4 separate regions of the Homo sapiens genome follow, and regions 2, 3 and 4 are each linked to region 1. Evidence: promoter capture Hi-C in human tissues and cell types (Jung and others, 2019). All regions are on one chromosome and are shown on one strand. Each heading gives the region's core, a stretch centred on a gene start or on the middle of the fragment in contact. The rest is flanking DNA. Distances are from core to core; before and after follow the strand shown. Region 1 holds the start of GSTA4 (glutathione S-transferase alpha 4). Region 2 has its middle 7.6 kb from the start of GSTA1. Region 3 has its middle 21 kb from the start of GSTA5. Region 4 has its middle 22 kb from the start of GCM1.

Region 1 (7,461 bases), core at 4,471-6,970:
AGGAGTTCGAGACCAGCCTGGGCAACATGGCAAGACCTGTCTCTACCAAAATTACAAAATTTAGCCGGATGTGGTGGTGTGCACCTGTGGTCCCAGTTACTTGGGGGGCTGAGGCAGGGGAATCACTTGAGCCCAGGAGACAGAGGTTATAGTGAGCCCAGATCACCCCCCTCCACCCCAGCCTGGGCAACAGAGTGAGGCCCTGTCTCAAAAAAAAAAAAAAAAAAAAAAAAAAAGCAAAAGCAGGTGGAAACAGTTTCTTGTTCCTGATTTCATCATTTTAACCTGCCTTGTATGTCTTTTAGCTTTTCACAGCACATTCTCATATACAATATAAACCTTCAAAAGAAGTTCATAACTTCATGAACTACATAAAGAATGTCACAGGAAATTCATTTTCTAAACATTCTTTGACTCCTTGACAGGATTTTCTAGGAACATGATCTACCAATCAAACTTGCATTGGTGAATCCCTAAGTGTGCCTCTCGCCATCAGAACAGTGACTTTACTGTGTAGTCATGGGCATTTGTCTTTTTGGCATCACGTTGGGCCCATGTTGCCCCTTCAGAAACCCTGAAGAAGCCATTTCAAGCTCTCAACCATCTTTCCTGATAAGAAAACCCACTTGTTAGAATAGGGTCTTACACCAATCGCTTATAGCTAAGGCTGAATTTAAGTCAAATGTTTCCCTCTTCTGGGAGTATACAAAGCTCTTAAACTGAGATTTGAAGCTCTTGACTTCTGTGCAAGCAATTTTACCTACTACTGAGCAGATGAGTGAAGGGTTGAGGCTAAGAAGACTTCTCAGGGCCTCTGAAAATGTATCAGGTAGGTAGGTGGGTAGGTAGGTAGGTAGAATAGATAGATAAAATGAGTAAGACTGTCTCAGGATGAGGGCAACTCTAAGGGTCTTCAAGAACAAGTAGGTTGATGATGTCAGGGGCTTCAAAGGAATAAAATGCCTTTGGGGTACCTGTCATAGAGTGCCAGAACTATTATAACAGGAGTTTTCATTTCTCCCCAAGCCTGTGTAATAGCAGTCATGCTGCTACCTTAGTTACACTTTCAGGTGAACAAGGCTGAGTGTTACCCAAAAAAGGTGTCCTGATCCAGATCCTAAAAGAGGGTTCTTGGATCTCGCACAGGAAGGAATGTAAGGCGAGTCACCCAGTGCCATGAGAAGTAACATTTTATTGAAAGCTACTCAGTTACAGAGTAGAGCATTCTCAGAAAGCAAGAGGAGGAATGCCTCTTCTTTGTTTTTATTCGATAGGGGTCTTATCTCTGTAAAAGGTAAGCTAAGCAATGTCTACGTGCGAGTGGGCTAACAGAATGAAAAAAATTAGTACTTTGTTAATTTAAAGAAAGGTATCCTTGGCATTTTCATGCGTAAATACGTGAAAGCATGACTATAATTACCTTAAAGGTGTTTAGCATTATGCAATATTGGAACATCTGGACATTCTACTGTCATAGGAATTTGTCCTTCCAGGTATTATTAAGCTATTTCCTCAGCTGTAGACATCTTAAGATGGAGCTGATTTTTTTGTTTTTTAATCTAGTTTAAGTTCCAGAATACAAGCGCACAACGTGTAGTTGTGCCATGGTGTAGTGTGCCATGGTGGTTTGCTGCACCTATTAACCCATCATCTAGGTTTTAAGCCCGGTATGTATTAGATATTTGTCCTAATGCTCCCCCTCCCCTCACTCCCCCACCCCCCGACTGGCCCTGGTGTGTGTTGTTCCCCTCCCTGTGTCTATGTGTTCTCATTGTAAGATGGAGTTGATTTTAAAATGCTGTCACCCTGGCTCTCCTACACTCCTGTTTCCCTAACTCTAGGATGATGTTGCCTCTATTTTATAAGATTGGACATCTGAAACTGCCATTTTTGAAGGTTAAAAACAGTAAGATATTAGCAATTTGGTATAATTCAACCAGTTGGAACTAAGCAAATGGAGACAAGTGCTTGGCTTAAATGTCTAATAAAAGCAATCACAAAAGCCAGGTGCAGAGGTACATGCCTGTAATCACAGCACTTTAAGAGGCAGAGGTGGGAGGATCACTTGAGCCTAGGAGTTTGAGACCAGCCTGGGCAGCATAGTTAGACCCCTTCTCTACAAAAACTAAAAATTAGCCAGTAGTGTCATGCGCCTGTAGTCTCAGCTACTCAGGAGGCTGAGGTGGGAGGATCACTTGAGCCTCGAAGCTGTAGTGAGCCCTGATCGCACCATTGCATTCCAGCCTGGGCAATACAGCAAGACCCTGTCTCCAAAAGACAAACAAACAACAACAACAACAACAACAACAACAACACACGATCACAAAAGACTATAAGAACCACAACCTTCCACAATGGCCATTGCAGTCTTACACAAAAAAATACTGGGATTATTGCCCTTGTTATTCATCTTTGCAGCAAAGGATACTTATTTTAAAACAATTATGCCATCGTCATTTTTGTCCTTTAAAAATCTTTGTTTTATTTTACCTCCCTGAATACACACATAATTTACTATGGCATGCATATTCCTATTGCAAAATTCAATTTCCAAATAAATATTTTTAAAGAGCCTCTTTCTGTTTGTTATTTAGGTTAACATAAAAAATCTAGAGATGATTTAAAGTAAACCAAAGGATGTGTGTTAAGTTACATGCAAATACTACACCGTTTTATATAAGGGACTGGAGCATGGTCTGATTTTGGTAGCTGAGGGGGTTCTGAAACCAATCCCCCACAGATACTGAGGGATGACTGTACTTTAAAATATCATGTTGTACACAGTAAAAATATACAATTTTATTTGTCAATTAAAAAATAAGCTCCTTGAGGGCAAGAACTGGATTTTATAATTTATTTTTTATGTCTCAGTAAATCCAGTAGACCTCAGCACAGATGTTCAATAAACCTTCCTTAATTATAAACTAAAAGCAAGAAAAAAAGAATGACCACTTTCAGCAAGGCTGGAAAATATGGCTTCCTACTCATGTTAAACTGAGTAATTGCTGTTAAATCAGAACTAGAAATATGATTGGATATACACTGTTAAGTCTTTTTTGAAAACGACTTTTCTGACTTTTGGGGTGCCCAGTGGTCCTTGACTTACCTCTCTTCTTACCCTGCATACCTTCTCTGGATGAGCTCATTCTTTTGCCACCAATTCAACCGATTTCAGTTCTCTCTACTGAGTCCTCACTGGGTTGGTTTTTGTCTTTTCGGTTTTTTTTTTATAGGGAGTCTTACTTTCTCGCCCAGCTTGTACTGCAGGGGCGTGATCACGGCTCACTGCAACCTCCGCCTTCCAGGTTCAAGCGATTCTCCCGCCTCAGCCTCCTGAATAGCTGGGACTACAGGAACAGGCCACCACGCCCGACTAATTTTGTATTTTTAGTGGAAACAGGGTTTCACCATGTTGGCCACGCTGGTCTTGAACTCCTGACCTCAGGTGATCCGCCCGCCTCAGCCTCTCAAAGTGCTGGGATTACAGGCGTGAGCCACTGCGCCCAGCCCTCAATGGCTTTTTCAACTGTCTAGTGGGTATTTCCAGCTGGATGGTTCATAGCAACAAAAGACAAGTCAACCCATTTTCCCCAAACTTTGTCTTCCTTCTCCGCTCTTTATGGAACTAGAAACCAAAGCATTGCTCATTCATTCATTCAACAAGTGTTCTCTGAATACCTACTCTATACTAACCAGGATGTACAAAAGGAAAACCAAAAGCGCAAAAATCCTCGATCTCGTGGAATTTACATTCTAGGAATCTACAGACAAATAAATAAAAAAGTCCTGTTAGATGACAATACATGTTATTAAAAAAAAGACAAGAAGTGTGTGTGTGTGTGTGTGTGTGTGTGTGTGTGTGTGTGTGTGTGTGTGTGTGTGTTGGACAGGGCATCATTCTAGACTTTTCTTCCTCCTCCCTTCCCTTTGATCTGATTAGCAATTGCTTTACCACCTACCTCCTTAGTATTTCACCTTTTCTTACTCATATTCTTCAAACTCATGGTGCTACTTTAATTTACACAGACACAAGAGGTTTCTTTCTCTACCCCTACTACCCCAATTCATTCGCCTCACTTTGGCCAGAGAAACCTATTGAAAATAAAATCTGATCATGTTAGCGGCTGCAATTGTTCAGCACCCAGGCTTGTCAAGCAAGGTACTCTCGAGCGCCCCCGTGGGTGAAGAAAATAACAACATCTATAGCCTGAGAAATAGCAGAAGCTGCCTCTAAAAACAAAATTTATTTTCGAAGGCATATATTTCAAACTTTGAAATCCATGTGAATTTTGCAATTGTTCCATAATATAGCCCTGATAGTTTTAATATATTTTTAATGTTTTAACTAACTTGCCAGCCAAATTATTCTTTTAGCACCACCCCCAACTCCAAAGACCCCCTTCCAAACAGGTGCTGACTTGAGACCGTGACTATAGAGCACTTGTCTCTAAAATGTACAAAATGAAGAGAAATCTCAAGATGTCCCACTGAGATGAAGAAAGAAAGAAGAAAATATGTATGTTTGTATACATGTATACATGTATATATATGTATACACAAAATTAGAAAAGTTAGGGTCTACTGTATAAATTAAATAAGCGTTGACAGTGCTTTTGATTTTAATCTGTATGTGGTACTTTGCCTGCTTAACACCCTTATGTGGATTTCCTGACGGACTTGACATTCCTGTCAGGAAAGCATTGCGTACTTGCTGATTAAAAAGCATCTAAGGGCCGGGAGCGGTGGCTCACGCCTGCAATCCCAGCACGAGGCAGGAGGATCACCTGACGTCAGGAGTTCAAGACCACCCTGGTCAACATGGCGAAACCCCGTCTTTACTAAAAATAGAAAAATTAGCCGGGCATGGTGGCGCGCGCCTGTAATCCCAGCTACTCGGGAGGCTGAGTCAGGAGAATCGCTTGAACCCGGGAGGTGGAGGTTACAGTGAGCCGAGATCCGTCTCAAAAATAAAAAATAAATAATGAAAAAAATTAAAAATTTAAAAATTAAAAAACATTTAAAAAAGCATCTAACTTAGATGGGTAATGGGTCAAAAGAAAGGCAGACTGCCACATGCAGCGCCTCATTTGGATGTGTCTGGAGTCTTGGAAGCTTGACTACCCTACGTTCTCCTACAAATGGACCTTGAGAGCTTGTTTGGAGGTTCTAGCAGGGGAGCGCAGCTACTCGTATACCCTTGACCGAAGACCGGTCCTCCTCTATCGGGGATGGTCGTCCTCTTCGACCGAGCGCGCAGCTTCGGGAGGGACGCACATGGAGCGGTGAGGGAGGAAGGGGACACCCGCCTAGCCAGCCAGATCAGCCGAATCAACCCTGGCGATCAATGGGGTGACAGATGTCGCAGCCAGATCGCCCTCACATCCGAGGTACCCAAGCGGCGCACAAGCTATATAAACCTGAAGGAAGTCTCAACTTTACACTTAGGTCAAGTTGCTTATCGTACTAGAGCTTCAGCAGGAAATTTAACTAAAATCTAATTTAACCAGCATAGCAAATATCATTTATTCCCAAAATGCTAAAGTTTGAGATAAACGGACTTGATTTCCGGCTGTTTTGACACTATCCAGAATGCCTTGCAGATGGGTGGGGCATGCTAAATACTGCAGTCTCCATTGGTGAGGTCGTCCCGGAGCCTCGCCCAGCTCCCGCGCGCTAGAGCCGCCTGCTGGTCTCACCCAGCCGGGACCGCTGACCTGGCGCTTTGTGCGGCTCCAGGCCTCCGAGTGGACTCCAGGTCTGTCTCCCTCCTGCGGTCGCCCCCTTCCTCGCCCTTTCTCTCTTCTTTTTTTTCCCTCCCCTTTACTCTCTGAGTCTCACTCTCGCATTCTTCCCTCACTCCCCCAGTTCAGTCCTTCTCTTGTCTTTTCTTCCTCTTGTCCTTTGTCCTCCTGCTCCATCCAGTCTGGGCAGAGGTGGGCCCCTTGGCTGGAGCTGGGGTCCTTCTTGGCTCAGTGTGCGTATTTTTTTTTAAACCCCTTCTGCGGAGTCTGAATGCATTGGTGGAAGGTGGGCTCGGATCGTCCCCGGGCCTGGCTGGGCTGCCGCTACGCCCCTGCATGGGCTGAGCGGGGAAGACGAGCATGGGAGAGTGCGATCTCAGATGGCCAAGCCCTGGCCCCCGGCTCGTTTTACAAGGCCGGGGGCTCATCTCCCTGTAGGGGTGGTGGACACGCGGGACCCGGGGGGCGCAGCCACCGCATGCGTGACGGTGGACGCACATTTTGCAGACAGTAGTAGTACTCGGCCTGTTCACCTTCCAGTTGCCGTGATAATAAAATATGATGATGTATGTAAAAGCATGAATACTTGAAGAGCTTCCAGTGGCTGTGCGATTTTCCTTCGCTACCCTCTTCAACGCCTGCCACCCCCTATCCCCCAGCTGAATTTGGAAAATCTGAGATTCTCGAGGTCAAAATATATAATATTCTGAATTTGTGAAATCCCGTACTGCTAGCACATATGTTTTTACAACAAATGGCCCCAGCTTCCCAAGATCCAGGATAAGAAGTCATAAATAGAAATCATATAAAAGCCAAGGTTTTTTTCTCCATGTTTTAAAATGGTGGTTTTTTTTTCTTGAGTGAGGGAAAATGCAGCAACAAAAATAAAGAACAGTTTCCCGTGCCAAAATCCTGAATATTCATTTCGCCCCTGAGCACTGGGTTGAAGACGCGAAATTGGGACTGTTGGTCTGCGACGAGCTGCTGCATTTGTATTTCAGAAAGCCTGAAAAGCTATCATGGCAGCAAGGCCCAAGCTCCACTATCCCAACGGAAGAGGCCGGATGGAGTCCGTGAGATGGGTTTTAGCTGCCGCCGGAGTCGAGGTACCTTATATGCTGTTTCTTCACGGATTTGTCATACAGCTTTTGAGACCTTTGAAAGAAAAATACGTTTTGAAGCACCGTTCAGTTCTAGTTCTCGTCCACCAAAATCACAGGCACGCTTCACTGAGTCAGATACCATCCCTGAAGGGATTTTTCTTTATAATTAGAACGTAGTTGATGGAATTCTATTTTCCTTTTGACTTTTACTTAATTATTGGCTTCTGATCTAGCACCAGTGAATATTTATTAATAAGAAGAAAGGAAATTTACCTGAAAATTGTCAGTTACTCTGAGCTCTTATTAATTATGCATTCTCAGGGTAAATTTCTTGTTTTCTTCAGTGGCTTCAAACTGGCAGCCTTGGTATCTTGCTTACATATGTGTGTGTGTCTGTTTTTGTTTTCGTTCTGTTCTTTTAGCTTCTTAGTATGGAAATTTTCAAATACCAATAAATGTAGAGAGAACATTGCCATGAATTCTATGTACTCATCACCCGACTTCAGCAATCATCAGCTCTATGCTAATCTTGTTTCATCTATCACCTCCCTTCCCTTGTTTTGTGGGAGTATTTTAAAGCAAAATCCAAACATCATAACATTTCATCTGGGAGTTCC
Region 2 (6,880 bases), core at 688-3,187, 180 kb after region 1:
CTACCATTTATTACTTGATGTTGATGCACGCGGGTCAGGCCCTGTATCATGCATTTTGAAAACATTACAATATTCTGTTTAAGAAAATATTCTATCCCCATTTTGCAGATGAGGAAACTAAGGCTTGAAGATGTTAAGTGATGATTCCCAGATCACACAGCTATTTTGAGGCAGAGTCAAGATTGGTACCAGATCATATCAACAGTGAAATACAGGAAATCTTGGTAAGTGTCTACTTTGACTTTTATTTTTATAGATTCTGCCTATTAAGTCAACTGCATTGTTATGCAATAACTGGTTTTCATAGTTGTATTAAATACCTGCATCCACTCAGAGCTTCTGATCAGATTGAGACAGCCTTATTGCTGGCTGCCATTCCAACCAAAGTGACTACACTCAGGACAAGGTGTGATTTATTTCAAAGTTTAAATCACTGATATAGATCAGCAATAGAGTATATTTTCATCAATATTAGATTGATTTAATTTTTTTAAGGATGATATGAAATAGCAGCCATACTTCAGAATCCTAATAGTGTATGTTTAATGAGCACTTACACACTTGCTACTTTTCTGAGTGCTTTGCATGACTTTGAAATTTAATCTTCATACCAACCTATAACATAGGTACCATAAGTATTCCCATTTCATAGATTAGGATACTGAGACACAGAGAGATTTAACAATGTGTCCAAAGTCAAGAAGCCAGGACATGACAACAGTGATATTAAACCCACACAGCCATGTCACAAGCCAGAGATTTTCATTAAAAATAATGTTACTGTGGGGACTTTAATTCCTTCCTGAAATTGAGAATTCTATTCTATTGTGTCCCATATTCTCCAGGAGGGAAAATTATAATTGCAAGAGTTATAACTGTGCAACAGCTATGACCTATTTCAACTTTAGCAGGGCTCCTACAAACTAAGCTGATGTAAATTATAGCAGAGGGCCCTTGGTGGCAGAATCTTTGGTGGCCACTGGCCTATGGCATACCCATGCTGGGGTCACAAAGGTTGTGGTCTGATCTCACTCAGAGACATATGCTTTCCTAAGATATGACAACATCATAATTAGAAGAACTGCATGATCCTTTAACTGCAGTGACATCCCCTCTCAAATCATGACCTAATCATGGACATGGGAGCGATCAAGGTGGAAGTAAAGTGAACTAGAAGATTGAGCGACTATGTGCTGTGATCCATGCCCTTTTCTCGATGATCTAGTGTAAATTTCAAAATGGCCACCACCAGCCTCCTCTGTGTGCTCTGCCAAGCTCAGAAATCTTATATTTTCCAAATTATGTACCAGCCAGAAGCCATTCAAGGTTAAAGGTCTACAGTGCTATGGAATGAATTAATAAGAGCCCATTTACTGTTTCTGCTTCCAGTTTGAAGAGAAATTTCTGGAATCTGCAAAAGATTTGGAAAAGTTAAGAAATAGTAAGATCAAGTCTCTAAGTGCCTCTGAGGAGGGTATCTAGTAGAAGGTACACAGGGAGGTTTGAACAGCCAGCAATGCTTACATGTGTGTAGGGTTGTAGTTGGTGATGGTGGAGAGGGAGAAAATCATAAAATGGAAAGGATGGGCTCCTAGAGCAGGTCTGGCAACTCTTTCCAGGCTAAAAAGGGCCAGACTTCTCTTTGTATTTGCTGGAGAACCATCTCCAGCACTCTGAGGATCCCTTTTCTTGCTTTCCTGCTTTTGGCACCATGAGTGAGCTGTGGTCATCAACTCAGGATCTCATATAGCCCACCCCATCCAAAGACACGCAAGGACATGTTTTAGACAAAAGGAGTTGAAATAGGTCCATTTTGAATTGTTTCTATTATAAGTTTGACAAGGTGATATCTTTGCAATATTGTCTGCTTAGATAATGAGACAGTGTTGACTTGGTTGGAAGTCCAGGTCACAGGGTGAGGAGGGACATGAGCCAGGGTAGAAGCCATGGGGTAAGAAACACAGAGCCTGCCCTGCACACACTGTCTAATGGGGGTATTGAAGGGCACACAAAGAGCCTACATAGAAGCTTCTCTCAGAACTGTGTTTAATGTCTTCAACAGCATGAGACTTACTTTGAGAAATTCCCATGTTAAATGGCATCTGGCTGGTGACCTGTTGCAGTCTCTCCCAACTTCTTCCTAAGATATCATGAAAATAAATCAACACAGACAATACAAGCGACCTATTCTGTAGCTGGATGGGAAATAAAAACATAAATGAAGTAACAGTATAAAAAGTAAAAGAACGCTTGATAAGAAAAAGCACTTCCAGAAGCTAAAAATAAGTTCCTATTTCATTTGAACAGTTGCCAGGCAATTTTTTTTTCATTTTATACATTTAGTCATTTCCACAACCACTTTTTCATCCTGAAAGGGTGGGATTCATAGAAATTTCACTCTGCCTTTTTTTTTTTTTCTATTTTCTAAAGATGGGAGTTTGTTCTTCCAGCAAGTGCCAATGGTTGAGATTGACGGGATGAAGCTGATGCAGACCAGAGCCATTCTCAACTACATTGCCAGCAAATACAACCTGTGTGGGAAAGACATAAAGGAGAGAGCCCCATATAGTATATTTTTTGTTCTTCCATCAACAGAGAACACAGAGTGATTTCGGTCCTTCTGTGAGTGGGCAGGACCGTGGAAGGAGCATCACGACTAGCAGCAGGCTGGGCCTTGGGCATATACGCTGGTGTCCAGTATTGCAGAGTCCCATGGAGATGAGAAAAGAGTGAATATGGGGAGGGTTCAGGCAAGTGTGATTCTAGAAGACAATGCAGCCTATGGATCCAGCACCCTGACAAAGGTTTCCAAACGCTGATGAACCATGAACTCAGGAGGATGGGGAATCATGATTCCAGGTGCTCGGGACTTCAGAGGCTGGACTCCAGCCAACAGCTTAGGACAAGGCATAGAATGTTTGAGAGTCGGTAGATGAAGGCCTGGGGAGAGAATGCTGCAAAGGAGCTGAATCTCAGGTTCCAGTAATTCCAAGAATGGTGACCAGGAACCTAAGTTTCCAGCCAGTTGTATGAACTGGTCCACTTGACTAAGGTTTGAGAGGCTGGTGCCCAAGATACCAGGATTACCTAAAGTGCAGCATTTGATACAGACCTAAGCAGCCAGACTGATTTTGCATCAGCAAAGCTGGGAGGAGGGGTCTCCTCCTTTGCTGGCAGTTCCTTGAGAAGTCCAATATAGAGTTACCAATGACCTAGCAATTCCACTACCAGGTCTACATCCAGGAGAAAGGAAAACACATCCTCACTAATCCATGCACAGAAATGTTCATAGGAGAATTATTCATGCTATGCAAAAGGTGGAAACAACCCAAATGTCCACCCATGGATGAATGGAGGAACAAGTTGTGCTGTAGCAGACAATGGAATATTCTTGGGCTATGAAAAGGGATGAAGTACTGATGCATGCTACAACATGGGTGAGCCTTGAAAACATGTTCCATAAAAGAAACCAGACACCAAAGGCCACATGTAACATGAATTCTTTTGTATGAACCATCCAGACCATTTGAGTCCAGAAAGGAAATCAGTTGTTGACAGGGGCTGGAGAAAGGGGACAATGGGGAATGGCTGCCAAAGCATGTGCTACTGCTTTCCCAGGTGATAAAAATGTTCTGGAATTAGACAGTGACAGTATTTGCAGAATTCTGTAAATGTACTAAAAATTACTGAATAATATTCTGTTAAGGGGTGGCAATTATAGTATGTGAATACATGTCAATAAAGCTGTTATTTAAAAGTATTCGCCAGGTATGGTGGCTCACGCCTGTAATCCCAGCACTTTGGGAGGCCGAGGCAGGCAGATCACCTGAGGTCGGGAGTTCAAGATCAGCCTGGCCAACATGGCAAAACCCCATCTCTACTCAAAATACAAAAATCAGCCAGGCGTAGTGGCAGGTGTCTGTAATCCCAGTTACTCGGGAGGCTGAGGCAGGAGAATCGTTTGAATACAGGAGGCGGAGGTTGCAGTGAGCCAGGATTGTACCACTGCACTGCAGCCTGGGTGACAGAGCAAGACTCTGTCTCAAAGAAAAATAAAATACAGGGCCAGGCACAGTGGCTCATGCCTGTAATCCCAGCACTTTGGGAGGCTGAGGTGGGTGGATCACGAGTTCAAGAGATCAAGACCCTCCTGGCCATCATGGTGAAACCCAGTCCCTACTAAAAGTACAAAAATTAGCCGGGGGTGGTGGCGTGCACCTAAGGTCCCAGCTACTCAGGAGGCTGAGGCAGGAGAATCACCTGAACCCAGGAAGCAGAGGTTGCAGTGAGCTGAGATTGCCCCCACTGCACTCCAGCCTGGTGACAGAGCGAGGCTCTGTCTCAAAAAAAACAAACAAACAAATAAACAAAATAAATAAATAAATAAAAGTTTTGTAGGAAACACAGTTTGAAATGAGAAGAAAGAAGATGTCCTATGCTATGCACTGGTTTTAACTATATGAATAATTTTACCATGTTTACCAATTTTACTATGTAAACAATTTTCCCACATTACCATGGGAATATTAGGTGAGGTCTTGAAACACAATCATGACTAGAATTGGACAACATCATATGGAAAAGGTAATGGAACAATGTTTTATGGAAAATAATTGAGAGAGCTTCTTTTTTTTTTGTTTTTTGAAAATTAGTAGCTTGCTTGAAAAAATATATTTTTTAGGGGTATCTTTTAAAGACATACCTTATTTCCTAGTTTTTCCTTTATTAATTTTATTTTTTTCTTTTTTAAGAACTTCTAATATTGGGCATAAAAGTGAGCCTGGGATTTGTAGTATGATGAGAGAGGAAAACAGACACGTTCGAGATCACTGTGCTGGGGAGGCTGTCTTGGGATTATGTAAATGGCAGGGCTTATGTGTAAAACAAACCACAGCAGAGTGAGCAAACCCTATTTGTAGCATCAGTGGTTACTTGCAGTGATTCCACTAATTTCTCTCATGACTGTGACGCTGGACAGGTCACCGATGTTTCTTGTACCTGTATTTGGTCATGTGTATAACAAACATTTTAGATATAAATCTATCACAGTAGAGTGTTCTGAGAAATAAATGTAAATATATTTATAAAAATCATAGCCTAATGACTAGCATATAAAAGGCACGCAGTGGAGCTGAATTACTTTCCTGTCACCTAATGCTTCACGGTCTCAAGTGTTTAAACATAAAATCTAAGGCAGAAGGCACTCAGCAGTTTGGTTATTTTTGTCTTACGGGGTCGAAATGTATACAGAAGGTAGGGCAGGTTTGAGTGAAAAGCTTCTTCATTGCTCATTGCATCCACCTGAGGAAAAAGATGCAAAGCTTGCCCTGATCAGAGGGAACAACAAGCCATTATTTTCCTGTCTTTGAAACTGTACCTGGGAGCTTCTGGATAGCTGAACACGTGGAGCTTCTTGGAGGGTGGCCTGTCCAGGGAAGGCATGGAAGGTCCATGCCCCTTCCCCAGATCTCGCCCTAGGCATTTCTTCAGCTTTTTAGTGGCTACATGATTTAAGCCTCAAAACTACAATAGAGAATTATTCAGTCAGATATATGGATTACCACCTAACAAGGATAAAGTAAATCTAAAGTCACAGTCAATACTCTGCCTCAAGTGGAAACTGTGATGTTTCTGTCTGGCACTGCCAAGTTTGCAGAACAACAAGAACCAAAAATCAAGAGAGAAGAACTTCATTCGGTTTTAGGGGTGACCCACAGCAAAGTGTGACAAATGGAAAGAGGTCCAGTGAGAACCTCAAACTTAATGTACTGTGAGGCTATCTTGAAAAACAGGCTCCTGGGCCTCTGCTCTTATGCTGCTTCTTTTATGACAAATAACACCTTTAGATCGCACGACAAAAAAAAGTAACACGAAAGACTACAAAAGAAATGAAAAGAAAGTCCTGATTCTACAAAGGATGCTAAGCAGATGAGAACCAATACCAAAACCAAGGACCAACCTGAGAATAAAAAGTGAAAGAGTTCAATGCAAAGAGAAAAGAGTTCAGCCCAGGTGCTGACTTGCCACAAGGCACAAGGAGCCTTTGTGGATACAGCACCTGGTTGACGGATGGGGTCCATGGCAACGGGCAACATAGACCATGTCTTGTTGCAACTTCCAGAAAAACTGTGGAAGTGAAGACAGTCCAAATGAGAATAAGCAAAAGGTGTTTATACAGAGCTTGCTATAGAAAGGAAGTCAGCCGCCATCTTTTGCATTTATCAGAGATTCAGAGGTAGGCAGGAAAGTCTGAGAGATTCATGGTAGAAAAAGTTATGTCCTGATTGCTGGCCTAGGGATGCTGTAAGCTGGCTAACTAGAAGTGTGGATTTCTATGGGATTAGTCAGAGATCCATATTTTGCTTTCTGTGGTTGGTCATAAATTGAAAATAGAGGCAAAAATTAGGGAAGCTGGCAGTTATTGGCCAATGCTGGTGTATTTGACTGTTGTAAGGGTCATGATAGAAGCTGTTTAGTCTATAAGGGCACTAAGAGTTTAGAGGGTTTCTTAGCAGTTTGGCTGCAATAACAAAATACCATAGACTGGGTAGCTTAAAGAACAGATGTTTCTATCTCACAGCTCTGCAGGCTGGGAAGTACAAGATCAATGTGCCAGCAGATTTCACATCTAGGGAGCACCTGTTCCTTGGATCATAGACAGCCAATCTCTGGCTATGTCCTCACATGGCAAACATGCCAAGGGAGTTCTCTGAGAACCCTTTTATAAGGGGACTAATGTCATTCATGAAAGCTCCACCCCCATGACTTGATCATCTCCTGAAACCCCCACCTACTAATGGCTTGAAAGAATATATTTTTTAGGGATCTCTTCTAAAGATTTGGGGGTCAGGATCTCAACATATGAATTTTTGGGAAACAT
Region 3 (7,793 bases), core at 2,683-5,182, 130 kb after region 1:
AAGTCTTTAATCCATCTTGAATTGATTTTTGTATAAGGTGTAAGGAAGGGATCCAGTTTCAGCTTTCTACATATGGCTAGCCAGTTTTCCCAGCACCATTTATTAAATAGGGAATCCTTTCCCCATTGCTTATTTTTTTCAGGTTTGTCAAAGATCAGATAATTGTAGATATGCGGCATTATTTCTGAGGGCTCTGTTCTGTTCCATTGGTCTATATCTCTGTTTTGGTACCAGTACCATACTATTTTGGTTACTGTAGCCTTGTAGTATAGTTTGAAGTCAGGTAGCGTGATGCCTCCAGCTTTGTTCTTTTGGCTTAGGATTGACTTGGCATTGTGGGCTCTTTTTTGCTTCCATATGAACTTTAAGGTAGTTTTTTCCCATTCTGTGAAGAAAGTCATTGGTAGCTTGATGGGGATGGCATTGAATCTATAAATTACCTTGGGCAGTATGGCCATTTTCACGATATTGATTCTTCCTAACCATGAGCATGGAATATTCTTCCATTTGTTTGTATCCTCTTTTATTTCATTGAGTAGCGATTTGTAGTTCTCCTTGAAGAGGTCCTTCATATCCCTTGTAAGTTGGATTCGTAGGTCTTTTATTCTCTTTGAAGCAATTGTGAATGGGAATTCACTCATGATTTGGCTCTCTGTTTGTCTGTTATTGGTGTATAAGAATGCTTGTGATTTTTGCACATTGATTTTGTATCCTGAGACTGCTGAAGTTCCTTATCAGCTTAAGGAGATTTTGGGCTGAGGCGACGGGGTTTTCTGGATATACAATCATGTCATCTGCAAACAGGGACAATTTGACTTCCTCTTTTCCTAATTGAATGCCCTTTATTTCCTTCTCCTGCTTGATTGTCCTGGCCAGAACTTCCAACACTATGTTGAATAGGAGTGGTGAGAGAGGGCATCCCTGTCTTGTGCAGGTTTTCAAAGGGAATGCTTCCAGTATTTGCCCATTCTGTATGATATTGGCTGTGGGTTTGTCATAGATAGCTCTTATTATTTTGAGATATGTCCCATCAATACCTAATTTACTGAGAGTTTTTAGCATGAAGTGTTGTTGAATTTTGTCAAAGGCCTTTTCTGCATCTATTGAGAAAATCATGTGGTTTTTGTCATTGGTTCTGTTTATATGCTGGATTACGTTTATTGATTTGCATATGTTGAACCAGCCTTGCATGGGATGAAGCCCACTTGATCATCGTGGATAAGTTTTTTGATGTGCTGTTGGATTTGGTTTGCCAGTATTTTATTGAGGATTTTTGCATTGATGTTCATCAAGGATATTGGTCTAAAATTCTCTTTTTTGGTTGTGTCTCTGCCAGGCTTTGGTATCAGGATGATGCTGGCCTCATAAAATGAGTTAGGGAGGATTCCCTCTTTTTCTATTGATTGGAATAGTTTCAGAAGGAATGGTACCAGCTCCTCCTTGTACCTCTGGTAGAATTCGGCTGTAAATTCATCTGGTCTTGGACTTTTTTTGGTTGGTAAGCTATTAATTATTGCCTCAATTTCAGAGCCTGTTATTGGACTATTCAGATATTCAACTTCTTCCTGGTTTAGTCTTGGGAGAGTGTATGTGTCAAGGAATATATCCATTTCTTCTAGATTTTCTAGTTTATTTACATAGAGGTGTTTATAGTATTCTCTGATGGTAGTTTGTATTTCTGTGGGATTGGTGTTGATATCCCCTTTATCATTTTTTATTGCATCTATTTGATTCTTCTCTCTTTTCTTCTTTATTAGTCTTGGTGGCAGTCTATCAATTTTGTTGATCTTTTCAAAAAACCAGCTCCTGGATTCATTGATTTTTTGAAGGGATTTTTGTGTCTCTATTTCCTTCAGTTCTGCTCTGATCTTAGTTATTTCTTGCCTTCTGCTAGCTTTTGAATGTGTTTGCTCTTGCTTCTCTAGTTCTTTTAATTGTGATAATAGGGTGTCAATTTTAGATCTTTCCTGCTTTCTCTTGTGGGCATTTAGTGCTATAAATTTCCCTCTACACACTGCTTTGAATGTGTCCCAGAGATTCTGGTATGTTGTGTCTTTGTTCTCATTGGTTTCAAAGAACATCTTTATTTCTGCCTTCATTTCATTATGTACCCAGTAGTCATTCAGGAGCAGGTTGTTCAGTTTCCATGTAGTTAAGCGGTTTTGAGTGAGTTTCTTAATCCTGAGTTCTAGTTTGATTGCACTGTGGTCTGAGAGACAGTTTGTTATAATTTCTGTTCTTTTACATTTGCTGAGGAGTGCTTTACTTCCAACTATGTGGTCAATTTTGGAATAAGTGTGGTGTGGTGCTGAAAAGAATGTATATTCTGTTGATTTGGGGTGGAGAGTTCTGTAAATGTCTATTAGGTCTGCTTGGTGCAGAGCTGAGTTCAATTCCTGGATATCCTCATTAACTTTCTGTCTCACTGATCTGTCTAATGTTGACAGTGGGGTGTTAAAGTCTCCCATTATTATTGTATGGGAGTCTAAGTCTCTTTGTAGGTCTCTAAGGACTTGCTTTATGAATCTGGGTGCTCCTGAATTAGGTGCATATATATTTAGGATAGTTAGCTCTTCTTGTTGAATTGATTCCTTTACCACTATGTAATGGCCTTCTTTGTCTCTTTTGATCTTTGTTGGTTTAAAATCTGTTTTATCAGAGACTAGGATTGCAACTCCTGCCTTTTTTGTTTTCTATTTGCTTGGTAGATCTTCCTCCATTCCTTTATTTTGAGCCTATGTGTGTCTCTGCAGATGAGATGGGTTTCCTGAATACAGCACACTGATGGGTCTTGACTCTATCCAGTTTGCCAGTCTGTGTCTTTTAATTGGAGCATTTAGCCCATTTACATTTAAGGTTAATATTATTATGTGTGAATTTGATCCTGTCATTATGTTAGCTGGTTATTTTGCTCATTAGTTGATGCATTTTCTTCCTAGCCTCGATGATCTTTATAATTTGGCATGATTTTGCAGTGGCTGGTACCGGTTGTTCCTTTCCATGTTTAGTGCTTCCTTCAGGAGCTCTTGTAGGGCAGGCCTGGTGGTGACAAAATCTCTCAGCATATGTTTTTCTGTGAAGGATTTTATTTCTCCTTCACTTATGAAGCTTAGTGTGGCTGGATATGAAATTCTGGGTTGAAAGTTCTTTTCTTTAAGAATGTTGAATATTAGCCGGGCGCGGTGGCTCACGCCTGTAATCCCAGCACTTTGGGAGGCCTTGGGGGGCGGATCACGAGGTCAGGAGATAGAGACCATCCCGGCTAAAACGGTGAAACCCCATCTCTACTAAAAATACAAAAAATTAGCCGGGCGTAGTGGCGGGCGCCTGTAGTCCCAGCTACTTGGGAGGCTGAGGCAGGAGAATGGCGTGAACCCAGGAGGAGGAGCTTGCAGTGAGCCGAGATCCCACCACTGCAGTCCAGCCTGGGTGACAGAGCGAGACTCCGTCTCAAAAAAAAAAAAAAAAATGTTGAATATTGGCCCCCACTCTCTTCTGGCTTGTAGAGTTTCTGCAGAGAGATCAGCTGTTAGTCTGATGGGCTTCCCTTTGTGGATAACCCAACCTTTCTCTCTGGCTGCCCTTAATATTTTTTCCTTCATTTCAACTTTGGTGAATCTGACAATTATGTGTCTTGGAGTTGCTCTTCTCAAGGAGTATCTTTGTGGCGTTCTCTGTATTTCCTGAATCTGAATGTTGGCCTGCCTTGCTAGATTGGGGAAGTTCTCCTGGATAATATCCTGCAGAGTGTTTTCCAACTTGGTTCCATTCTCCCCGTCACTTTCAGGCACACCAATCAGATGTAGATTTGGTCTTTTCACATAGTCCCATATTTCTTGGAGGCTTTGTTCATTTCTTTTTATTCTTTTTTCTCTAAACTTTCTTCTCACTTCATTTCATTCATTTCATCTTCCATCACTGATACCCTTTCTTCCAGTTGATCAAATCGACTACTGAGGCTTGTGCATTTGTCATGTAGTTCTTGTGCCGTGGTTTTCAGCTCCATCAGGTCCTTTAAGGACTTCTGTGCATGGTTATTCTAGTTAGCCATTCGTCTAATATTTTTTCAAGGTGTTTAACTTCTTTGCCATGGGTTCAAACTTCCTCCTTTAGCTCAGAGTAGTTTGATCATCTGAAGCCTTCTTCTCTCAACTCGTCAAAGTCGTTTTCTGTCCAGCTTTGTTGCTGGTGCAGAGCTGCGCCCCTTTGGAGGAGGAGAGGCGCTCTGATTTTTAGAGTTTCCAGTTTTTCTGCTCTGTTTTTTCCCCATCTTTGTGGTTTTATCTACCTTTGGTCTTTGATGATGGTGACGTACAGATGGGGTTTTGGTGTGGATGTCCTTTCTGTTTGTTAGTTTACCTTCTAACAGTCAGGGCCCTCAGCTGCAGGTCTGTTGGAGTTTGCTAGAGGTCTACTCCAGACCCTGTTTGCCTGAGTATCAGCAGCGGAGGCTGCAGAACAGTGGATATTGGTGAACAGCAAATGTTGCTGTCTGATTGTTCCTCTGGAAGTTTTGTCTCAGAGTAGTACCCAGCCGTGTGAGGTGTCAGACTGCCCCTATGGTGGGCTGCCTCCCAGTTAGGCTACTCAGGGGTAAGGGACCCACTTGAGGAGGCAGTCTGTCTGTTCTCAGATCTCAAGCTACATGCTGGGAGAACCACTACTCTCTTCAAAGCTGTCAGACAGGGACATTTAAGTCTGCAGAGGTTTCTGCTGCCTTTTGTTCCGTTATGACCTGCCCCCAGAGGTGGAGACTATAGAGGCAGGCAGGCCTCCTTGAACTGAGGTAGGCTCCACCCAGTTTGAGCTTCCAGGCCAGTTTGTTTACCTACTCAAGCCTTGGCAATGGTGGGCGCCCCTCCCCAAGCCTCGCTGCCGCCTTGCAGTTTGATCTCAGACTGCTGTGCTAGCAATGAGCGAGAGGCTCTGTGGGCGTAGGACCCTCTGAGGCAGGCCCGGGTTATAATCTCCTGGTGTGCTGTTTGCTAAGACTGTTGGAAAAGCACAGTATTAGGGTGGGAGTGACCCGATTTTCCAGGTGCCGTCTGTCACCCCCTTCTTTGACTAGGAAAGGGAATTACCTGACCCCTTGTGCTTCCCAGGTGAGGCAATGCCTCGCCCTGCTTTGGCTCACACTCGGTGTGCTGCACCCACTGTCCTGCACCCAGTATCTGACACTCCCCAGTGAGATGAACCCGGTACCTCAGTTGGAAATGCAGAAATCACCTGTCTTCTGCGTCGCTCACGCTGGGAGCTCTAGACTGGAGTTGTTCCTATTTGGCCATCTTGGCTCCACCCCCCAAAATTTATATTTAATGAGCAGTTACTATCACTTGCTACTTTTCTAAGTGCTTTGTGTGACCTTGTAATTAAATCTTGATATCAACCTATACCATAAGTTCCATAAGTTTACCCATTTCATAGATTAGCATACTCAGACACAGAGAGTTTCGGTAACATGTCCAAAGTCAAGAAGCCAGTACATGAAAATGGTGATAATGAACCCACAAAACCACATCAGAAACCAGAGGTTTTCATGAAAAATAATGTTAGCGTGGGGCTCTAATTCCTTTATTAAATTGAGAATTTTACCCTATTGGTCCCATGTACTTCAGAAGAGAAAATTACAGTTGCAAGTGTGAAAGCTGTGCAACAGCTGCAACCTATTTCACCCTTAGCAGAGTTTCTGAGAAGTGGGGTGATATAAATTATAGCAGAGACTCCTTGGTGGCAGAATATTTGATGGCCATTAGCCCATGGCATACCCCACACTGGGGACACACAAGGTTGTGGTCTGATCTCACCTGGAGACACAGGCTTTCCTAAGATATGACAACACCATAAGTAGAAGAACTGCTCAGTGCCTTTTCTCCAGTGATGTCTGCTCTCAAAATATGACCTAATCATAGACATTCATGAGATCAGGCTGGAGGTGAAGTGAACTAGAAGATTGAGCAGCTATGTGCTGTGACCCACGCACTTTTCTCAATAAATTAGGTCTAAATTTACAAATGGCCATGACCAGCCCCCTCTGTGTACCCTGCCAAACTCAGAAATCTTATATTCTCCAAACCATGCACCAGATAGGGGCCATTCCACATCACAAGTCTATAATAGAATAAACTAACAAGAACTCATATACTGTTTCTGCTTGCATTTTGAAGAGAAATTTCTAGAATCTGCAGAAGATTTGGAAAAGTTAAGAAATGGTAAGATCGGCCAGGTGAAGTGGCTCCTGCCTGTAATCCCAGCACTTTGGGAAGCCAAGGCGGGCTGATCATGAGGTCAGGAGTTCGAGACCAGCCTGACCAATGTGGTGAAAACCCTTCTCTACTAAAAATAAAAAAATTAGCCAGGCATGATGGTGTGTGCCTGTAATCCCAGCTACTCAGTAGGCTGAGGCGGTAGAATCGCTTGAGCCCTAGAGGCGGATGTTGCAGTGAGCCAAGATCGCACCACTGCACTCCAGCCTGGGTGACAGAGCAAGACTCAGTCTCAAAAAAAAAAAAAAAAAAGGTAAGATCAATCTCTAAGTGCCTCTGATGATAGTATCGAGTAGAAGGTACACGGGGAGGTTTGACCAGCCGGCAATGCCTATGTGTGTGGGGCGTGGTATTTGTACATGGTGCAGAGGGAGAAAGTGGTTAAAATGGAAGGGATGTGGCTCCGTGATCAAGTCTGGCAACTCTCTCCAGACTAAAAGGACCAGACCTCTCAGACTATTTGCTAGAGGAATCATCTCCCATGCCCTGAGAAAACCCTTTCTTTGTTTTCATGATTGGGGCTCCGTGAATGAGCTGTGGTCATCAGCTCAGGATCCCACACAGCTCTCCCCATCCAAGGACACGCAAGAACATGCATTAGACTAAAGGAGGAGAAATCGATGTGGCCACAGTCTTGAGTTTTTTCTTTCATGCGGGGGCATGACAAGGTAACACTGCAGCACTGCACAAACATTGTAGGCTTTGAAGAGCAGAGAAAGGGACCCTTACATAAAAACCTCTCAGAAATTGCCTTAAATGTCACAAACACCATGAGACTTACTTTGGGAACTTCCCATTTTAAATGGCATCTTGTTGCCAGTCCTATTGTAACTTGTCCCAACCTCTTCCTAAAATATCCATGAAGATAAATCAACACAAAAATACAAGAGTCCTACTATGTATCTGGAGGGGAAATAAAAACATGAATGAAATAAATCGATAAAAAGTAAAAGGAAGCTTCTTAAGAAAAAGAAGAACTACGGGAAGCTTTTTAAAAATCTTGTTTGGGCCAGGTGCAGTCGCTTACGCCTAATCCCAGCACTTTGGGAGGCTGAGGTGGGTGGATCATTTGAGATCGGGAGTATGAGACCAGTTAGGGCAACATGGTGAGACCCCATCTCTACTAAAAATATAAAAATTAGCCAGGCATGTTGGTGCACACCTGTAATCCCAGCTACTCAGGAGGTTGAGGTACAAGAATTGCTTCAACCCAGGAGGCAGAGGTTACAGTGAGCCGAAATCACGCCACTGAACTCCAGCCTGGGTGACAAAGTGCAACTCTGTCTCAAAAACAAAACAAAACAAAACAAAAAGTTGTTTCAAGTGAAATCTTACCAGGCCATAATTTCTTTTTCATTTCACAAATTTAGTAATTTCCATACCATTTTTTTCATACGGAAAGAGTGGGTTCCATAGACATTTCACTCTCCTTTTTTCCTTCTTTCTAAAGATGGGAGTTTTATGTTCCAACAAGTGCCAATGGTTGAGATTGATGGGATGAAGCTGGTTCAGACCAGAGCCATTCTCAAC
Region 4 (7,814 bases), core at 1,279-3,778, 180 kb before region 1:
TGCCTTGGCCTCCCAAGTAGCTGGGACTACAGGCACATGTCACCACACCCAGCTAATTTTTGTATTTTTAATAGAGATGGGGTTTCACCATGTTGGCCAGGCTGGTATCGAACTCCTGACCTCAGGTGATCCACCCGCCTCCGCCTCCCAAAGTGCTAAGATTACAGGTGTGAGCCACTGCGCCTAGCCTGGCTGCATGATTAAATAATACATCATGTTTCAAAGACTTTGAATGAGAATTAGTTGTAATTTTTCTCAATTTTAATTTTGATTCCATGTCAAAATAATGTTTTAGTGATATTGGGTTAAATGAATATATTATTACAATTCATTTCATCTGTTTATTTTTACTTTTCCATGGTGACTCCTGGGAAATGTAAAATGCCCTGTTTTGATTGGACTTTGTTGGTCTAGAATCTTGCATGTCTTTCAAGGATTTTGGCTTTTATTCTGACTAATGTGGGGAGCCCATAGATAGTTTTGAGCAAAGGAGTGACATGGTCTGGCCTTTTTAAAAGAGGTCACTCTGGGTGCTCAATTGACAACAAATTGGAGGAGATGTAGGAAGACCACCTAGGAGGCTATTGAGTAATCCAGGGGAGACATATTGATGGCTTACCTCAGAGTGGTAGTGGGTGGAGGTGGTGAGACATGGTAAGAATCCATATATATGTATTTTTTTTCTTTTCTTTTCTTTTTTTTTTTTTTTTTTTTTGAGATGGAATCTCGCTCTGTCACCCAGGCTGGAGTGCAGAAGCGTGATCTCAGCTCACTGCAACCTCTGCATCCTGGGTTCAAGCAATTCTCCTGTCTCGGCCTCCTGAGTAGCTGAGACTACAAGTGCATGCCACCACACCTGGCTAATTTTTATAGTTTTAGTAGAGACGGGGTTTCATCATATTGGTCGAGCTGGTCTCAAACTCCTGACCTCAGGTGATCCACCCACCTCACACTCCCCAAATGCTGGGATTACAGGCATGAGCCACCATGCCCAGCCTAATTTTTGTATTTTTAGCAGAGACGGGGATTCACCATATTGGTCAGGCAGGTCTCAAACTCCTGACCTCAAGTGATCCACCTGTTTCAGCCTCCCAAAGTGCTGGGATTACAGGCATGAGCCACCACACCCGGCTTGAATCCCAATATATTTTAAAGGTACAGCCAGCAGGATTTCCTGAGGGAGCTGATATGGAGTGTGAGAGAAATAAAGTGGTCACTGATGCCTGCAGTGATTTTGGCCTGAGAGCCTGGAAGGATGGGTAGCCATTAACTGAGACAGGAAGACTGTGGGCAGAGCAGGGGAATATGAGGATAACAGTATGGGGGCCGATTAAATGGTCATGCAGAGAAGTTGAACAGTTAGGTATCAGAGTATGGAGCTCAGGGGCTCAGACTTCTGTCTGAGCTGAGTATGGGGCTCAGACTTCTGTCTGAGCTGAGTATGGAGCTCAGACTTCTGTCTGAGCCAGAGGTATAAATAAGTGCAAGGACCATGCCTTAGACAACTTGGTAAGGATAGATTGGGGAGAAAAGGCAGACTCCACAAAGAACTAAGAGGGGAGGAGAAGCCAGTTGATGGTGCCCTGAGGATCGGTGAAGTGAGGAGCTAGCAATCAAGTGCTGTTTATAGATAAAGTGAAGATGAGGACAGGGTTGACTAATGGATGTAAGTGATGCAGAGGTCAAGAGAAGTTCCTTTGGAACGGTCTGAGCAAAAGCTGATTACAGTGGGTGTAGCCGAGAATAGCAGGGAAGGCTTTGGAGTTGGTGAATATCAGTAAGTATGGAAAACCCCAGGAATTACTGGAAAAAAGAACAGAAATAGGGTCATAGCTGATAGAAAATTGGGGCCCAAGAGGAATGATAAATAATGATGGGATAGATAACAGCAGGTTTCTGTGCTAATAGGAATAAGCTAGTAGAGAAAGGAAAATTGATGACGTGGGGGAAAAGGTCGTGAAAATTTTCTGGAGTCATGTTTCCGTGGAAGTGAGAAGGGATTTTACCTAGGGCACGGGAAGGGTTGCCCTTAGGAGCCAGGACAGTTCACCTACCTTCGCTGGCAGGAAGGCCGACCTGTGGTCGTGGTAGGGCGCTGTGAAGTTCCGTCTATCTGCTTCGTTTTCTCAGTGAACTGGAAAGCAAGGCCATGAGCAGAGTGAGGTGTCGGAGCTTAGCTGAGTGAGTTGCAAGTGTGAAACAGTGTGAGAATGAACGGACGGCGGGGATACAGGGTAACATTCACGGACATGGGTTTAAAGTGATGACCCAGGATTGTGGTACCTGCAAAGGTGTTGAGGGTGCATTCAAGAGAGTGATCTTAATGACTGACATAGAGTCAACTCACTCAAACAAATATTTGCTGAGTGCTTATCACAGCAGCAATGTATTATAATAAAAACTGCTTTTTAGGCTGAGTTGCTACACATCAGTGAGTGTTCCTGCACTGCCTCCCGATGGCCGTGACAGGAACTGCGGCTGAGGCACCACCCGACCTGGGACAGGGCTGCCATCTCCCGGCCAGTCCCTGCTACTGCAAGTGCAGCAGGCTCAGGCGCTGCTGGACTTTCTCGGTGCCCTGGATTGGTGACTGGTAGAAAAGATGACCAAGCCGAAGGCTAGTCCTGTGTGGCCATTACCTCTGCCCTTGCCTACCCTTCACTTTTCCATTCTTATTCTATTTTACTTATTTTTAAAATAAGTTTTTAATAGAAATTTCTTTTCTCTTATTTTATTTTATTTTTTTAGAGACGGGGGCCTTGCCATGTTGCCTAGGCTGGACTTAAACTCTTGAGCTCAAGCTATCCTCCCGCTTCAGTTTCCCAAGTGACTTGGATTATGGGCACAGCTGCCATACCTGGTTCACTTCTTATTCTCAGTAACAAGCAAATTACCCCCTTCTAAGGGGTGTTCCTTTCCTGAGAAATTTCCCATCTTAGCAGACAACTCTAAATATCAAAAAACCCTTGAGGACCAATGAAATGAAATTATCATTGAATTTCAAGCATCTGTGGAATACAAATGCAGGAAATATTTTAGATGCAAGGGTCCACACTGCCCCCAATATCCTATCCCGTAGATAGGGTACCACACTCAGGGTAATGAGTTTTGTGCTCTTCTGTCACACATCCCATTAGATGTTAATTGAGAATCCATGATGCTCTAGGCTCTGGATAATGTATGCATTGCCCAGTGATTTGGTTTCGGAAACCTCAAATATTCCCCACTCTTCACACTAATTTCCTGTGTTGATTAAAATTTTTACTATTAGTCGTTTTAGCATAGAAGTATTGGAGCCCTTGAAAAATCAAGTAAATTGGCCGGGCGCAGTGGCTCACGCCTGTAATCCCAGCACTTTAGGAAGCGGAGGTGGGCGGATCACCTGAGGTCAGGAGTTCGAGACCAGCCTGACTAACATGGTAAAACCCTGTCTCTACCAAAAATACAAAACTTAGCCAGGCGTAGTAGGAGGCCCCTGTAATCCCAGCTACTCAGGAGGCTGAGGCAGGAGAATCACTTGAACTCGGGAGGCAGAGGTTGCAGTGTGCCGAGATCGTACCTTTGCACTCCAGCCTGGGCGACAGAGCGAGACTCCGTTTCAAAAAGAAAAAAGAAAAAGAAAAGAAAAATTAAGTAAATTATCTGATAGGGCTAGACAATATATCAGGCTTTACTTTGCTAATATATCAAATTAGTTACCTGACACTACAGCCCAAAAGAGACAGAGCTACAAGTGGGCAAATATTTTTCAGTTATTTTTTTTTTTTTATCAAAGCAATACCTGCATGTAAATTCGAGTAGTGAAAAAGGCTTGTCATGAAAAACTGCAGATAGCTAACTGCCTTTTCTTTTTTTTTCTTTTTCTTTTTTTTTTTTTTTTTGAGATGGAGTTTCACTCTTCTTGCCCAGGCTGGAGTACAATGGCGTGATCTTGGCTCACTGCAATCTCTGCCTCCCAGGCTCAAGTGATTCTCTTGCCTCAGCCTCCCGAGTAGCTGGGATTACAGGCATGCACCACCACACCCAGCTATTTTTTGTATTTTTAGTAGAGATGAGGTTTCACCATGTTGACTAGGCTGGTCTCGAACTCCTGACCTCAGGTGATCCTCCTGCCTCGGCCTCCCAAAGTGCTGGGATTACAGGCATAAGCCACCACGCCTGGCCAGCTAACTGCCTTTTCTTATCTCATAGCCCTACACCCACAGAAAATTATCCTTATCTCTTTTAGGAATTTCCCTAAGCATTTATCTCCGTGTTTCTGAATAATATGCTCATGTTGTGTTTCTCAATTTGTTAGTTTTAGACTTTACTGATTCATTTGCCCCTCCCAAGGTAATTACATAAATATTTTCGTTAGTTAGTGGTTGGCATTTACACTACTTTGACAAATATTGTTCATTGCTAAGATATGATTCTTTGTTTTTCCTGGAATTAATAATTGCCTCATTTTTTCATTTACCTGCTTTTCAATGTATCCATAATTAATTTAATTTTGTGACTCTCTGACACACATTGAGCAATGATCTTCCTTCCCTCCTTCCTTTCTTTTCTTCTTTCTCTCTCTCTCTCTTTTTTTTTTTTTTTTTTTTTTTTTTTTTTTTGTGAGATAAGAGTCTTACTCTGTTGCCCAGGCACAACATCCTAGGCTCAGGTGATCCTCCCACCCCAGTCTCCCAAGTAGCTGGGACTACAGGCATGCATCACCATGCCCTACACTGTTTTGTATTTTTTTCTGTTTTTGTTTTTGTTTTTTTTAATGGAGTCTCACTCTGTTGCCTAGGCTGGAGTGCAGTGGTGCAATCTCAGCTCACTGCAACCTCCGCCTTGTGGGTTCAAGCAATTCTTCCTGCCTCAGCCTCCCAAGTAGCTGGGATTATAGGCATCCACCACCACACCCGGCTAACTTTTGTATTTTTTAGTAGAGACAGGGTTTTGCCATGTTGGCCAGACTGGTCTTGAACTGACCTCAGGTGATCCACCCGCCTCGGCCTCCCGAAGTGCTGGGATTATAGGCATGCACCACCATGCCCAGCTAATTTTTGTATTTTTAGTAGAGATGGAGTTTTACCATGTTGTCCATGATGGTCTCGAACTCCTCATCTCAGGTGATCCACCCGCCTTGGCCTCCGAAAGTGCTGGGATTACAGGCATGAGCCACTGCACCTAGCCAAGTTTTGTATTTTTTGTAGAGACAGGGGTGTCACTATGTTGCACAGGTCTCAAACTCCTGGGGTCAAGCAATCCACCAGCCGTACCCTCCCACAGTGCTAAGATTACAGGCATGAGCCACAATGCCCAGCAATAATATTTTCTATATTCACAAAGCTTTGCTTTCCATTTTTTTCCTATATGTACTTCTGTACTGGTCAGAGTTCTACAGGGAAACAGAACTAAGGGAGTATGTGTTGTGGGAAGGGGGAGCAGTGTGAGGGTGTGTGGGGGCGGTGGAGAGAGAGGGGAATTCAGTTTGAAGAATTGGCTCACATGATTGTGCAGGCTGGCAAGTCCAAAATCTGCAGGGCAGCCTGGCAGGCTGGAGACCCAGGGAAGAGCGGCTGCTGCAGCTTCATTCCAAAGGCAGTCTAGAGGCAGAATTTCTGTTTCTTTGAGGGTCGTCAGTCTCTGAAGGCTCTTAGGGCCTTCAACTTATTGAATGAGACCACGTGATGGAGGATAATCTGCTTTACTTAAAGTCTACTGATTTAAATGTTACTCTCATCTAAAAATACCTTCACAGCAATGTCTAGACTGGTGTTTGACCAAATATCTAGGTATCATGGCCTAGCCAAGTTGACACATAAAATTAATCATCATAGCTTAAAAAAAATTAACCATCATGACCTCTCTCCCAGATTCTTTGTTCATGAATATGGCCTTCTGCATTCCTGCCCTGCTGGAACATCCTGAGCTTTTCTTCCTTGCTCTCTGGAATGCTTTCTTTTCATTCACTTGCCCCCATTTTGGTGGAACATATCCTCCAGTAGCTTCCAGTGCACAGAAAGTGAATTTTCAAAGCCATTGTATGTTTCAAAATGTTTTTATTCTTCCCTCACACTTAACTGACATGGGTCACTCCAGAATCGTGGCTCACTCTAGCAGCTCTGGGTTGAACATACTTTTCCCTTGGAATTTTGGAAGCATTACGCCATTTTCTTCTCATTTTCTGAAGTTGATGCTTTTGAACAATCCAGTGAAATTCTGATTTCCCACCTTTTGCTTATAATTTCCTTTTTCTCTCTGGGAGTTTAAGAATGTTTTCTCTTGATTCCCAGTGTCCTGAACTTTCACAGTGGCATGTCCAGGGCAGGTCTTTTTTCACTTACTGTGTTGAGCACTCAGTAGAACTTTCATTCTGGAGTCTCATGTCCATCAAGAAAATGTATTGTATCACTTCATTCATTTCTTTTTTCCACTTTCAATGATTTCGTGGGCAGCTTTTAATTTTAGCTGAGTGGACTTTCTGCCCTGATCCTCTAAATTTGTTTTCTGTGTTTCTTCCCTCTGACTTTTTTTTTTTTTTTTTTTTTGAGATGGAATCTTGCTCTGTCTCCTAGGCTGGAGTGCAGTGGTGTGATTTCGGCTCACTGCAATCTCCACCTCCCGGGTTCAAGCAGTTCTCCTGCCTCAGCGTCCCAAGTAGCTGGGATTACAGGCTCCTGCCACCATGCCTAGCTAATTTTTGTATTTTTATTAGAGATGGGGTTTCGCCATGATGGCCAGGCTGGTCTCGAGCTCCTGAGCTCATGATCTGCCTGCCTTGGCCTCCCAAAGTGCTGGGATTACAGGCGTGAGCCACCGTGCCCAGCCCCCTTTGACTTTTTATTTAATCTTCCGGTTGGTGGAATTCCCTGATTTAATTTCCCTACTTACTATGAATTTTTTATTTACACTGTTATATTTACAGTTTCAGTTTCCCAGAACCCTTTCTTGGTTTCTGATGTTTTGTGTTTTTTTTTTCCCCTGTTGTATCTCAGTTGCTCCATTCTCAAGGACCTTAATGGCATCATTGCTGCATCTTCTTGCAATATTTCTCTTTCCTCCAAGGCTTAGTTAGTTGGTTGATTTTAAATCTCTTTTATGTTGGAGACTTTTCCCAAATGTGTAGTCTTCCTGGACTGTTTGTTCCTATTTAAGACAGTGAGGTCATTTTTTAATAAGCAGATTTGAAGTTCTATGTGGGACTTACTGATGAGTTAGTGGGTTCCCTATTAGGGAATCAATCAGTGAGCCACCCTTTTCATGGGGGAGCCCTAAGCTATTTGTACTTCTTATTTCTAAGGCCATTCCATTTTTGCAGAAAAGAAGGATCATTCATTTCCTACAGCCAGCAGTGGTGTCCAGGGCAGGCTTTACCCCTGATCTTCTGAGGACAGGATGGGGAAAAGAACTGTGGTCCCCACAGTTTATTAGGAGACTTTCATCGTGCTGAATTCAGTCTGGTGCTCTTCCCAACCTTCTCTTTTATGGGGGTGGGGTGGGGATGGCGTCTCACTCTGTTGCCTGGGCTGGAGTGCAGTGGCGCGATCTCGGCTCACTGCAATCTCCGCCTCCCGGGTTCAAGCGATTCTCCTGCCTCAGCCTCCCGAGTAGCTGGGATTACAGGCACCCGCCACCATGCCCAGTTAATTTTTATAAATTTTTAGTAAAGACAGGGTTTCACTAAGTTGGCCAGGCTGGTCTCGAACTCCTTACTCATGATCTGCCTGCCTTGGCCTCCCAAAGTGCTGGGATTACACGCATGAGCCACCATGCCTGGCCTTCCCTGTTCTTTATGTCCCTAAATTCAGAACTTTTCCAAATCCAAAGCTTTGGTT

What was found. The method cuts DNA at HindIII sites, captures the fragments that hold promoters and counts their contacts. A contact is called where the count stands out against the background at its distance.
Region 2: a fragment that was not itself captured here is called in contact with the fragment with the promoter of GSTA4 in region 1 in 1 of the 25 tissues and cell types used here (mesendoderm cells).
Region 3: a contact is called between a fragment that was not itself captured here and the fragment with the promoter of GSTA4 in region 1, in 1 of the 25 tissues and cell types used here (liver).
Region 4: a fragment that was not itself captured here is called in contact with the fragment with the promoter of GSTA4 in region 1 in 1 of the 25 tissues and cell types used here (spleen).

What each region holds. Positions count from the first base shown.
Region 1 is chr6:52,993,543-53,001,003 of GRCh38, reverse strand. GSTA4 (glutathione S-transferase alpha 4) reads left to right here and starts at 5,720. Exons shown (of 7, transcript NM_001512.4): 1 at 5,720-5,755; 2 at 6,743-6,847. The coding sequence starts at 6,761. RN7SK (RNA component of 7SK nuclear ribonucleoprotein) reads right to left here and starts at 5,384; the gene lies at 5,053-5,384. RefSeq lists silencers at 5,147-5,236, 5,568-5,799 and an enhancer at 5,397-5,616. The HindIII fragment of the contact is 14,338 bases long and covers 1,882-7,461 here.
Region 2 is chr6:52,807,970-52,814,849 of GRCh38, reverse strand. It overlaps the pseudogene GSTA6P. Among named protein-coding and RNA genes, the nearest start is that of GSTA1, 7.6 kb to the right of the region's middle. The HindIII fragment of the contact is 8,412 bases long and covers 1-6,143 here.
Region 3 is chr6:52,858,334-52,866,126 of GRCh38, reverse strand. It overlaps the pseudogene GSTA11P. Among named protein-coding and RNA genes, the nearest start is that of GSTA5, 21 kb to the right of the region's middle. The HindIII fragment of the contact is 6,606 bases long and covers 630-7,235 here.
Region 4 is chr6:53,166,725-53,174,538 of GRCh38, reverse strand. No RefSeq gene overlaps it. Among named protein-coding and RNA genes, the nearest start is that of GCM1, 22 kb to the right of the region's middle. The HindIII fragment of the contact is 8,076 bases long and covers 1-6,566 here.